Linked DNA regions of Homo sapiens: all the other regions are linked to region 2. The links are contacts of gene promoters, found by promoter capture Hi-C in human tissues and cell types (Jung and others, 2019). All regions are on one chromosome and are shown on one strand. Each heading gives the region's core, a stretch centred on a gene start or on the middle of the fragment in contact. The rest is flanking DNA. Distances are from core to core; before and after follow the strand shown. Region 1 overlaps MED27 (mediator complex subunit 27). Region 2 holds the start of NTNG2 (netrin G2). Region 3 overlaps MED27 (mediator complex subunit 27).

Region 1 (3,888 bases), core at 1,140-3,639, 210 kb before region 2:
ACTGCCCTAGTCCCTTATGGGTTCCTTATACCCTGCCCACACCTTTGGAAACAGTCCCTTTATTAAAGTCTCCTCAATCTGGAAATCGTTCCCTTAGACAATTTCTTCTCAGAACAAAAAGTTCTTCCTAAATAAAACACATGACATTAAAACCAACCCTGCTAGAGTAAGAAACATGGTAAATTGAAGAATATTTAAACCAACTGAAGGTAACAGTGATATAAGTATTCTAGATTAGTAATGAAACAAAATTTACATGCGCTCTGCTTAACTGAACAACATTCATTTAATAATTTTCCCCTGGAGTATTTTAACTGTGGATGCGGCTAGTTTAGAAATTCAAGACATCCAAACAGGATAATGGAAGGATCTGCCTCCCTGAGAAACAGGTACCCCAGTCTGGTTTTCTGCTGCCTCTCTTATTTCCCCTTCCTTCCTAAAGTGCCCTGGCACCTCCAAACTGTAGCCACAAAGTAGTCCTTCTCAGGCCACTGCAAAGTTTGCTTTTTCCTTTAAGTTTACTGTCAAGTTCATATTTGCAGGTGTGAATTTGCACAGACTAACAGTTTCCAAAATGTCATACACATAAAAGTGGTTTTAGGTGATATATGGATGAACATTTTTCATTTCAATATCTGTAGGTATAGAACAATATACAACTAGTAAATAAAACCTGTGATTTCATAGATAGCATTGCTCAGTCATGGTACCACAGAGGCTAGGCTTTAAAAAATTATACAAATATTATACAAATTATAATTAAAATTACATTATTTAAGAATATTAAAAATACTATACAAATAATAGAACAGCTGGCCAAAGGTTATGGCAAAAATTCTACAGTTGGTTTGCAAATGACTGAGTTTAGAAACACTATCTTACAGTAAGGCAGGTAATTAAACAGCTTCGTTCCAAAAGGGTTTTGCCTTGTTCGTAAATTGTGGGGTTTTTTTTCCCCCACTCTAAATAAATCTTCACTTTTATATCTTTTTTTTTTTTTTTTGAGATGGAGTCTCTGTCTGTCACCCAGGCTGGAGTGCCAGTGGCATGATCTTGGCTCACTGCAACCTCTGCCTCCCGGGTTCAAGTGATTCTTGTGCCTCAGCCTCCTGGGTAGTTAGGATTACAGGCCCCTACCACCACACCCGGTTAATTTTTGACAGGGTTTCGCCATGTTGGCCAGGCTGGTCTCAAACTCCTGACCTCAGATGATCCGCCCGCCTCAGTCTCCCAAAGTGCTGGGTTTACAGGCATGAGCCACCATGCCCAGCCTTTTTATCTTTTTAAAAAAGTTTTCATGCATATATTTGCATATATTGAAGAAGGAGAAATGGACAAGCACCCTAGGAGTGGCCAGGGTGTTTAGGTAAGCAGCACCACTAAGCAAGGGCTGCCAGTGATCAATCAGCTGGGAGCTGACCACACTGGGATGCATGTCTGGGAATGTGTGATGTGAGCACAGGAGGAGGGCCTCCTTGATAGAAAATGTCTTTCCCACAGCCAGCAGCATGCACGCTCAGTGGCTCCAAAATCCCTTTTGCCCTTTTCAAAGGAGTTAAAAACCACACCAGAACATACTTCTCTCAGTGGAGCCAAATCTAGGAGTCTACCTGAGACAGGTGGATTGATGCTTGCAATGCCCTGAACAAACTTTTAGAGGGTGCCCTCTACAGGTTTAAGGTGGCCTCAACAAACCATTAACTAGCCTCAGCTGTGATCTCCTGAAGCTGAGAAGTCTTGTGGCAGTCTTTCAAGTTCTGGCAGAAACTCTTTTATATTGTATATCAGAGGAGAAAGAAAGTGAATCAATTTGACCCCTCTGCTCATCAATGCTACCACTGACCCTCTGAGCCCTACTACCTATTTCTCTCCCATAGCATGCCACCCCAAAGAAACTCCTCTGCCCAGAGAAAGGGGACAACTTCAGGGGTGAACGAAACCCATTATTTATAAGCAAGGAAGGTCATAAGAATTATTATTATTTTTTTAAAAGCTTAGAAGGATGAGCTCATCCAGAAGACATAACAATCCTAAATGTGTATGCTCCTAAAAAATAGTCAATACCACGCCTCTCTCAGTAATTGACAGAACAAGTAGACAGAAAGTCAGTAAGAATACAGAAGACTTGAACAGGGTTAACCCAATGACATATATATTCTATATCCCAAAACAGTAGAAGGTACATCCTTTCCAAGTGCACCTGGAACACTCACCAAGACAGACCATAAGCCGGGTCTCGAAACATGCAGAATATGTTCTCTGACCACAACTGAAGTGAAAAATAAATAACAAAAATATAACATAAAGAGCCCCCATATATTCAGAAATTAAACACACTTTTAAACAACTCACGGGTCAAAGAAGAAATCACAAGAGAAATTAGAAAATACCTTGGGCTGAATGATAAAAATATATTAAAACGTGTGGGATGCAGCTAAAACCATGCTCAGAGGGAAATTTATAGTTTTTAAAAGCCTATATAAGAAAAGAAAAAAGACTTGAAGATCAAATATCTAAGCTTCCATTAAAAAAAGAAAAAGAAGAGAAAATTAAATCCAAGGTAAGTACAAGGAGGCAATAATGTGTGTAAATCAATGAAATAGAAGACAGATACAGAAAAATCACCAAAACCAAGAGCAGGTTATGGAAATAAAAATCAACAAAACTGAGAAGTCGCTAGTTAGACTGATCAAGAGCAAAAAGAGGGAAGATAATTTATCAATATCAGGAATGAATGATGAGACATCGCTCAGATTCTAGAGGCATTAGAAGAGAATACTATGAACCAATCTCTTCGACAGCTAGACGAAGTGGATGTCTTTGAAAGATGTAAGTTATATAACTGACATGAGAAGAAATAAACATCTAAAAAGCTTTACATCTATTTTGCTAAAAGTGAATTTGTTATTAAAAATCTTCCCATGAAGAAAACTCCAGACCCACACAGATCCCTCAGTTAAATCTATCAACTATCTAGGGAAGAAATAGTATCAATCATATGGAAATTCAGAAAACAGAGAAAAAATATTTCTCAACTCATTTAATGGATCAAGCATTATCCTGATACTGAAACTAGAGAAAGACACTACAAAAGAAAAAGAAAGTTATAGACAATACTCTTCCATGAACAAAGATACAAAATTCCTTAATAAAATATTAGCAAATAGAATCCAGCAATATATAAAAAAGATAATATATCATGATCAAGTGTATTCCAGAAATGCAAAATTGGACTAACATTCAAAAATCAACCCATGCTGTGTTCTAGCCATACCATGAAATATTACTCTGACACCTGCTAAAGGTATGAACCTTGGGGAAATTACGCTAAGTCAGAAAAAAATAAATACTGTCTGATTCCACTTTTAGGATATACTTACAGAGGTCAAATCCATAGAGACAGAAAGTAGAATGGTGGCTGCCAGGAGATGGTGGAGTGGGAATTGGAAGTTACAGTTAGTGGGCACAGTTTTAGTTTTGCAAGATGAAGAGTTCTGAAGATGAATGGCGGTGATGGCTGCACAAAAATGTAAATGCACTTCGGGAGGCCGAGGCGGGCAGATCACCTGAGGTCAGGAGTCTGAGACCAGCCTGGCCAACATGGCGAAACCCCATCTCTACTAAAAATACAAATATTAGCCAAGCATGATGGCAGGCGCCTGTAATTCCAGCTACTCAGGAGGCTGAGGCACAAGAATTGCTTGAACCCAGAAGGCAGCAGTTGCAGTGAGCCGAGATCACGCCACTGCACTCCAGCTGGGTGACAGAGTGAGACTCCGCCTCAAAAAAAAAAAAAAAAAGTGAATGTACTTAATGCCACTGAATTGTAACATTTAAAAGTGGTTAAATTATCTGTTATGTGTACTTAATAAGAATTTTTTAAAAATC
Region 2 (3,722 bases), core at 1,186-3,685:
CATCAGCTTGTTGCAGAGGCAGGGAGTATTGGTGAGGTGGGGGCTGGCAGGGAGGCATGTTAAAAATTGTTTCTAGTGGCACATATCTTTACATATGGGTCACTGAAACCATCCTGGCAGTGCTAGGGAGGAGGCACCCCTGGTTCCTCCACTGTGTTTAGATGAACTACAAGTAAGAAGCAGCTCCTCCATCTCTTTGGCCATTCCTGACAGCATCCAGTCCACAGTGATGATGGAGGAGCAGGGTGGTTCCCAGGGATTGATGACCATGCCCTGGGGTGACAGCAGGCTGAGGGCTGACCCTGGTCATCACTCACCCTGTGCAGGAGCCCCACACCCTGCCCTTCACTGCTGCCTGCAGGCTGAATGCTTAAAAATCAAACCACCAAGATCTGTTCTCTTCTCCCAAGGAGCTTCCTCCTGCATAGAACAGGTAACCAGGGGTGGGCCCATGTCTGCCTTCCTGGGCTGCTTGGTGAGATAGGCCCATCTCCAGTGGTAGGCATCTGAGAGCATGTGCAGGTAGAGGCACACAATGGCCCTGTTTTTTGACCCCTCTTTGAAAAAAGAAGGATTTACCGTTCATATCTCACATATGGGGAAACTGAGCCCCAAAGCAGTCTGGGCCGTGTTCCAAGTTCACCAGCCAGCCAGGCCAGTGAGAGAGCATCACCCAGAAACCCAAAAGCCCTGCCTCCCCGGCCACAATCCTTAGCTATGTGACCTTGGGCAAGTTACTTAACATCTCTAACTTGAGGCTTTGCTACTAGCAGTGAAGTCACAGGGCTTTGGCGAAGATTCAGTGAATAATGCACACAAACTGGTTTGCATGGAGTCTGGCATAAAACAGGTGTTCAATAAATATATTATTATTATTATTACAGCAGATGACAGTCTTTAATTCTGCATCCTCTTCCTGTTTTGTCACAAGATTCCAAATATTATTCAGCAGTATAACTCCGTCTCCAGTTTTCAGGGCAGCTGAGAACAGGGAAGGGTTAAGGTGGAGGTGAAGGGTGGCAGCAGGGCGGGGCACTGAGGTGCCATGTCTTGCTCCATTCCCAACACCCTCTGTGACCTTGGGCTGGTCTCTCTCTCTCTGCCTCTCTCTCTGTCTGTCCTCAGGCCCTTTGTTCTTGATGCATCCAAATGACAGTGCTGGCTGCTCAAGGCTGCAGTGAGCCCACCCCAGGAGGCCAGGAGTGTCCGAAAACCACATGTGCTTCTGGAAGATGTGGAAACTCTCCCAGAAGCCCTGGGAGGCAGGCTGGCAGGAAACCTCCTGGGGATCAGAGAGCCCAGGGCTGCCGGATATGATATTGTGAACTCGGTGGCCTCTGCCCGGGGCTGCTGCTACCGGAGCCCTCCCACACCTGCCTCCCATGCTTGCAGGGGAGGGAGACAGAGAACCCCTCAGCCAGGCCCCTCCTGCCCCACTACTCTGCACTCCCTGCAGAGCTGGCTTGGCTTCGTCAAAAGCAGGGCCCATCAGGGTGGAGGCGGCGATGTGTCAGCTGGTATTCAGGCTCTGGTTGTGCGCTCAGATCGCTCCCCCTCCCCATCTCCCCAAATCCACCCACCCACCCCGGTACCCACTGCTTGGGGCCTTCTGGGTGGCAGCACTTCACAGAGAGAGACCGAGGAGCAGCCCTGAGCCCTTGGCTGTGGGGGGTGGGGGAACTGACTCACTTGGCCCCCCTCCCTCGTGCCGATGGGGCAGCCCCCACACCCATGGGCGCTGGCACCCCGGCAGGCCCCCGGGTTTTGGAAGAGGAAGCTGCAGCCCGGCTGCGCCTGACCGGAGCCGGCTGAGGATGCGCTCTGGGCGCAGGGACCCGCTGGCCCCCGGGCCGGGAGGCGATGTTTAGGCAGCGACCCCCCAGAGGCTGCCGGGGCCACCCTGGCCACGGGCCCGCCGGGACGCCCCTGCTCGCCGCGCCCCTCCCCGGGCCGTGGCGCGTCCCCCGAGCCGCGCAATATTTCCTTCCTGCACCTTTAAGAAGACCGTTGCTCCGTGGTGGGATGGTGTGTTAAAGCCACACAGAGGAAGTTACGCAGCCCGGATCAGACCGAGAGATAAAAGCCCCGATGGTGATCGTGAGTGATGGCAAGAGGATTTAGCCTCGGCATTAACTTGGAGCGGAGTGCAGGGGGGCAGTGAAGCGCCCGCCATCTGGCCCGCGCCGCGCCGGGGGGATGCCCCGGCTCCCCGACGAGACGCCGCGAAGCCCACCCGGGCCGGGGGCTGCCCGGCGCCCGAGCGCGGGTCCTCCCCGGGCCGCCCAGGGGGGCCAAAAAGTTTGCACTTGTTAGCGGCGACCTCCCGCTCAGCCCGGGCGGGCGATGCGGGCGGCGCGGGCGGCCCCCTCCCCCGGCCCGCGTCTCCGGGACGGCTGCGGGCGGCCCCCCCGGCGGCCGGAGGGCTCCCTGGCCCCGATCTGACGGCGGCGGCGGCGGCGGCCACAGCGGCGGGAGCGGCGCGGGGAAGGAGCAGCGGCTCGCAGCCCTCGGCCCGCGCCCCCACCCAGCGCCAGCCCGAGGGGGGAGGCGCAGCGCCGGAGGGTGGCGGTCCTCGGCCCTCCCAGGTCTCCGCGCCGGGAAGCCGCTCCGAGCCGGGGTAAGGCGGGCGGGGAGAGCCCGGGAGGCGGGCGGGGGGAGAGGCTGCAGCTTGGCCAGGCCGGTTTCATTTTTAAAGGGCTTCGGTGACCATGCAGGCTTGCCCGGGCCCGGGAGCCACTTACAGCGGCCCGGCAAAGGCTCGGATGCAAAAGTTGTTTGGTGGCGGCTGCTACGAGCTGAGAACTGGAGTCGCCCCAGAGGGGTGTGTGAGGGTGCGTTCTTAGCAGCATCTTAAAGGGGTAGCTTGTCTTTCTGGCCAGCTTCCCCCGGGTCCTTTCCGTCGTGTGTGTGAGAGTGTGTGTGTGTGTGTGTGTGAGAGAGAGACAGAGTGTGTGTGTGTGTGTGTGTGTGTGTGTGTGTGTGTGTGTGTGTGTGTCGGGGAGGGATGTTGCAAGGATGCTCGGATGTGTCTCGGAAAAGGAAACTAACCCTGCTCCCGCGCCTCTCCCCCACCCCAATTCCACCGCCACCGCTTAGAGCCACCCCCATCCCGTGCCCTCCCATCTCTCTGCAAACTGGGAGCCTGTGAGTTGCACAGAGAAACTCCCGGCCAGTCCGGCTGGAAACTTCTCCCGGCGCCGGGAGGGGGTCGGGAGGTGAGGGGGCGCAGGCACTGGTTTGGGGCCGGCGTGGAGTCGAACCTGGAACTGAGCGGCGCGCAGGTGGGGGGAGCAGAGGCGGCGGGAAGGCGGGAAGAGAGGACCGCGGGCTCGCGGGGTCCGCCCGCTCCGGAGTAAGTTGGCCGTCTGGGCTGGGGGCGGCGGCGGCCGGGTCGCCACAGGCGGCAGCGCCGGGGCAAAGGATACAGCCAGTTCCTGGGCGCCCTGCTCTGTGTCTTTTAATTAAGAGAGGCAGTGCCGAAAAAGGGGGCGCCTCAGTCCCGGCCGGGCCTTTATTACGGGCTTAATTATTAATTGCTGCCGTGGCTTGCACGCAACTTTGGGAAGACGAAAAGCAGCTGCGGGGCTGCCGGGTCGTCGGTGTCCTAGGCACAGGGCTCGCAGCCGGCCCGAAGCACTGACTCGACCCTGGCCCCGGCCTCGACCCCGCCCGCGGCCCGCCGGGACCCACCCGGGAGCTGCTGCTCGCGCCCCGCCTCCCGC
Region 3 (3,862 bases), core at 279-2,778, 220 kb before region 2:
AAAAAATCACCAGCCTAGTGCCTGGTAGTCCAAATCTTACTTGCCACCAGCATGACCTGTCCTCAGAGACAAGAGGAGGACAGCATCCTGGAGGCTTGGGGAGATAGGGATAGGTGTCCCCGCAGCCACGGGAAACAACTGCCTCCATTTCCTACTTGTCAGATGAGCACAGTTGGTGCTACCCACCTCGAGGGCCACAGTGAGGACCAGATGAGATAAGTGCTGTGTAAGCCACAAGACTCTGTCCACACAGACGTTCACTGTGCCATACAGACGGCTGGTTCCTCTAGGGAATTACTTCCCCTCCACTCCTTGCAGTTCTGTGGGGCTGCCAAGGCCTGACTCCCCCATCCTCTGGGCTCAGGGCAAGGAGCAACTGCAGGCTAGGCCAGCAGGAGTGTTCTTCCCAGGTTGTATGCACAGGGATGGAAGGCGGTTAATACGGAATCATTTGGGCCATGGGGCCCCCTAAAAAACGTTGTCCTGATCTTGTTCCTGACATGCCTGGAGCTACTCTGGTTTTTGTCCTGCCGGGCAGGTCAGATTAATCACTGAGTCTGATGCACCTGGCACCATCAAACAGCAAAACCAAAACCAACTCTTTCCTTATGTAAGTCAATCAGAGTTTCTGTTGACTGCATTCAAGGAAGCCCAGCCAATTCAGGAGGAAATGCCGTTTTATTTCAAAAGCACAGGCACAGTTCGTACATTTGCCGAGGGAGGTAAAGGAAGGTGTCAGCTGAGACTGCTCAAGTGCACCCTGCTTCAACGGCCTCTTAACTGGTCTTTCCCCATCAGTCTCGCTTGCCCCCAAAGCCTTCAGGAATACACTGCATTCCAGAATAAATCAATTTATTCCAGATTCATCTCCAGAAAACACTTTTTGGGGAACAGGTGACTAGCAGTAGGTAGTGGGGGAGGTGGCATCTGTTGGTCCTGCTCCCCCTCCAGGTAGGAATTCCCATCACCCACCTCACGATGGATGTGGTAGCAGTGAATAGCCTAGAGATTTGCCATCTCATAAAATTCCAACTTTTAATAGTAAATGCCAAATGCAGGCATTATGTTAAAAGTATGATTAACCCCATGGCCCATGGCAATCTGATTCTGAATCAAATCACCTACCACTGGCCCTGTAAGTAAGCACCAGCTTCTGTGAGTTCCTGTGTCGCTGAAGAAAGGTAACAAGTAGGCACCTAGATCCACGTGTCTGAATTAGCGGGGGTGGATGGGTGTTAGTGGTAGTAAATAAACAGGGCATATGAAATGTGATTCTTGCCTTGAATTGAGCCCCTAAACTCTCTCATCAGTCTATTAGGACAGAAGCTCCATGGGAAAGCAGGCGAGGTCGACCATCACTGTGAAATACATGCCTGCCTTCTCAGGTGGAAGGAACTCATCTGTGTGGCCTGTTTGCCTGGAATCCTGTTCCCTCTGCTCATTCCCTTCAATGCCAAATCCCACCCTCATTATGAAATGGGAGCTCAATGACCCAGAAATAATTTGAACAAACCTATTTCACTGAGGATGCATTCATTTTTATCTTCATTAACTCTCTGGGGCCCTGTCAGGTATGCTGAGAGCAGGGTTTATGTTTCAACTGCTAGGTCTGGGGTATCTTAAAATCTGGGCAATTTGTACATTTAACTGAGGCAGACTTTTTTTTTTTTTTGAGACAGAGTCTCGCTCTTTTGCCCAGGCTGGAGTGCAATGGCGCGATCTCAGCTCACTGCAACCTCTGGAGGCAGACGATATTTTGTGTTCTGTAGACAGATGTATTTTATATGAAGAAAACTGTTTCCCTTTTCTATGAAAAAAACATCGCATTATCTCCTTTTCTTTATGTTTTAACTGAAAGAAATTTTTTAAATATTATGTTATCCAGGTGAATGTCACTAATTTGTTTCCCCCACAAACGAAGTAACAAACATTTAACAAGCCCAGATCTTTTCCTGTCTTAAGACCAAAACACGCACGCACACACAATGCTCCCCGAAGATGAACGGCTGGAGTAAACAGTAACTCATCCTGGGTGACTGGCTATTTATAAGATTTCACACAAGTAAAATGCTAAAATATGGGGAGTTCACACTAGGCTCCAAAGCAGCAACAGCAGAATAGATGGAAAAAATACCCAGTCCTGAACCTTACCTCCCTGACGCCCATCGAAACCATCATTCTTATTCAATAAACTCTGCTTTTTATAAAATGTGGTGGTTCCTCAAAAATCTGTGTTCAGGGAAGTATTCTTCAAGCACATACAAGTATTATTACACAGACCACTAGAAAAGCTTCTCATCATTGAGGTCTCTATGCCTTCCTAATTAATAACATAATTTAGCATTTCTATCCCACTGTATTTCCAAAACACACCTGTCTTCGGTGAATTCATGCAAATACAAACATCTTCTAGGAGATTATGAGGCGATGTGTTCAGAGCAAACCATAATCAGAAACAGCAAAACCAGAAGTCATCAGTCTCAGAACACTTTCTTCAAATACATAATATTCTGGTTTTATATTAAGAGAGTGTTTTCTTTTTTTTTCTTTTTTTTTTTGAGAAGGAGTCTTGCTCTGTCACCCAGGCTGGAGAGTGCAGTGGAGTGATCTCGGCTCACTGCAAGCTCCGCCTCCCAGGTTCATGCCATTCTCCTGCCTCAGCCTCCCCAGCAGCTGGGACTACAGGCACCCACCACCACACCCGGCTAATATTTTGTATTTTTAGTAGAGATGGGGTTTCACTGTGTTAGCCAGGATGGTCTCGATCTCCTGACCTCGTGATCCGCCCGCCTCAGCCTCCCAAAGTGCTGGGATTACAGGCGTGAGTCACCGCGCCTGGCGAGAGTGTTTTCTTTAGCAGGATCCAACAGTTGAGCATCACTATTGTCTACTATACTCCTTTGGGGAAAATAGAAAACAGATTCGCCAAAACATTGGGAGGTTGCATTAAGTGACTTAAGGTGAAATGGTCTTACAGTGTCTTTCCTCTCTGGTTAAGTCTTACATGGGGTCTGAAATTTTGTTCAAAAGCAAGGTTTCAATGTGCAGAATTCTTAACCTACAGAATGCCAGTAAAGAAACTATGTTATTCACTATCAAATTGGAATTTAATCCCCATTCTCTAGATCCTACAACACAGGACCAGAGAGTTAATTGTGAAGTCCATTTTTTCCCCCAACATCCCTACAAATCAGTCAAGCTGATCTTACCAGAAGCATTGCTGATGTTCCATTGGGTCTGGATAAGTGGATGGACATTTCAGGAAACATCCTGTCAATGCGGCTGATCACATCATCAACATATCTACATGGGAAAAAAATAAACATGTGTGAACTACAACTCCAGTTAAGAGCTACAGATTAATAGTATTCAAAAGACATTGCTTTTAAATATAATTTTAAATCAATATAACACATTTTTAAGAAGGCAAATAGAATTAGAAACCTTTTAGTCTTTACCTCTGTATGTCCAGATAATGTGTTTTTAATGCTAGTTCTTGATTTTTCATTTTAAGGCATGACTATTAATCTTCTTCTATAGGAGGTCAGAATTTAGCTGTGTCACCTGCTGGGCCACTGGACTCCAACAACATGGCCCCCTCCCTTTGTCCTTCCAGTCCAGGATGGCAGCAGTGTCCTGCTGTTGCGCACCTCCGGGCTGTCTCACTGTCTAATCTGGCTTCTCCTTTGAATCACTGGAATAACCAATTCCCAGGATTAAATTCCTTCCTTTTTTTTTTTTTTTTTTTTCTTTGAGACAGAGTCTTGCTGTGTCACCTAGGCTGGAGTGCAGTGGCGTGATCTCGGCTCACTGCAACCTCTGCCTCCCGGGTTCAAGCGATTCTCCTGCTTCAGCCTCCCGA

The links. Contacts are between HindIII fragments. The study calls those that stand out against the background at their distance.
Region 1: a fragment that was not itself captured here is called in contact with the fragment with the promoter of NTNG2 in region 2 in 2 of the 25 tissues and cell types used here (dorsolateral prefrontal cortex and lymphoblastoid cells).
Region 3: a contact is called between a fragment that was not itself captured here and the fragment with the promoter of NTNG2 in region 2, in 2 of the 25 tissues and cell types used here (IMR-90 fibroblasts and hippocampus).

What each region holds. Positions count from the first base shown.
Region 1 is chr9:131,952,832-131,956,719 of GRCh38, forward strand. The region is part of intron 3 of MED27 (mediator complex subunit 27); the gene reads right to left. Among named protein-coding and RNA genes, the nearest start is that of MED27, 130 kb to the right of the region's middle. The HindIII fragment of the contact is 4,027 bases long and covers 377-3,888 here.
Region 2 is chr9:132,159,623-132,163,344 of GRCh38, forward strand. NTNG2 (netrin G2) reads left to right here and starts at 2,436. Exons shown (of 8, transcript NM_032536.4): 1 at 2,436-2,617. It overlaps LOC124902291 (a long non-coding RNA gene), which reads right to left and starts at 2,078. Exons shown (of 2, transcript XR_007061826.1): 1 at 1,994-2,078; 2 at 836-981. The HindIII fragment of the contact is 9,283 bases long and covers 1-3,722 here.
Region 3 is chr9:131,936,172-131,940,033 of GRCh38, forward strand. MED27 (mediator complex subunit 27) reads right to left here. Exons shown (of 8, transcript NM_004269.4): 4 at 3,210-3,303. Among named protein-coding and RNA genes, the nearest start is that of MED27, 140 kb to the right of the region's middle. The HindIII fragment of the contact is 5,314 bases long and covers 1-3,862 here.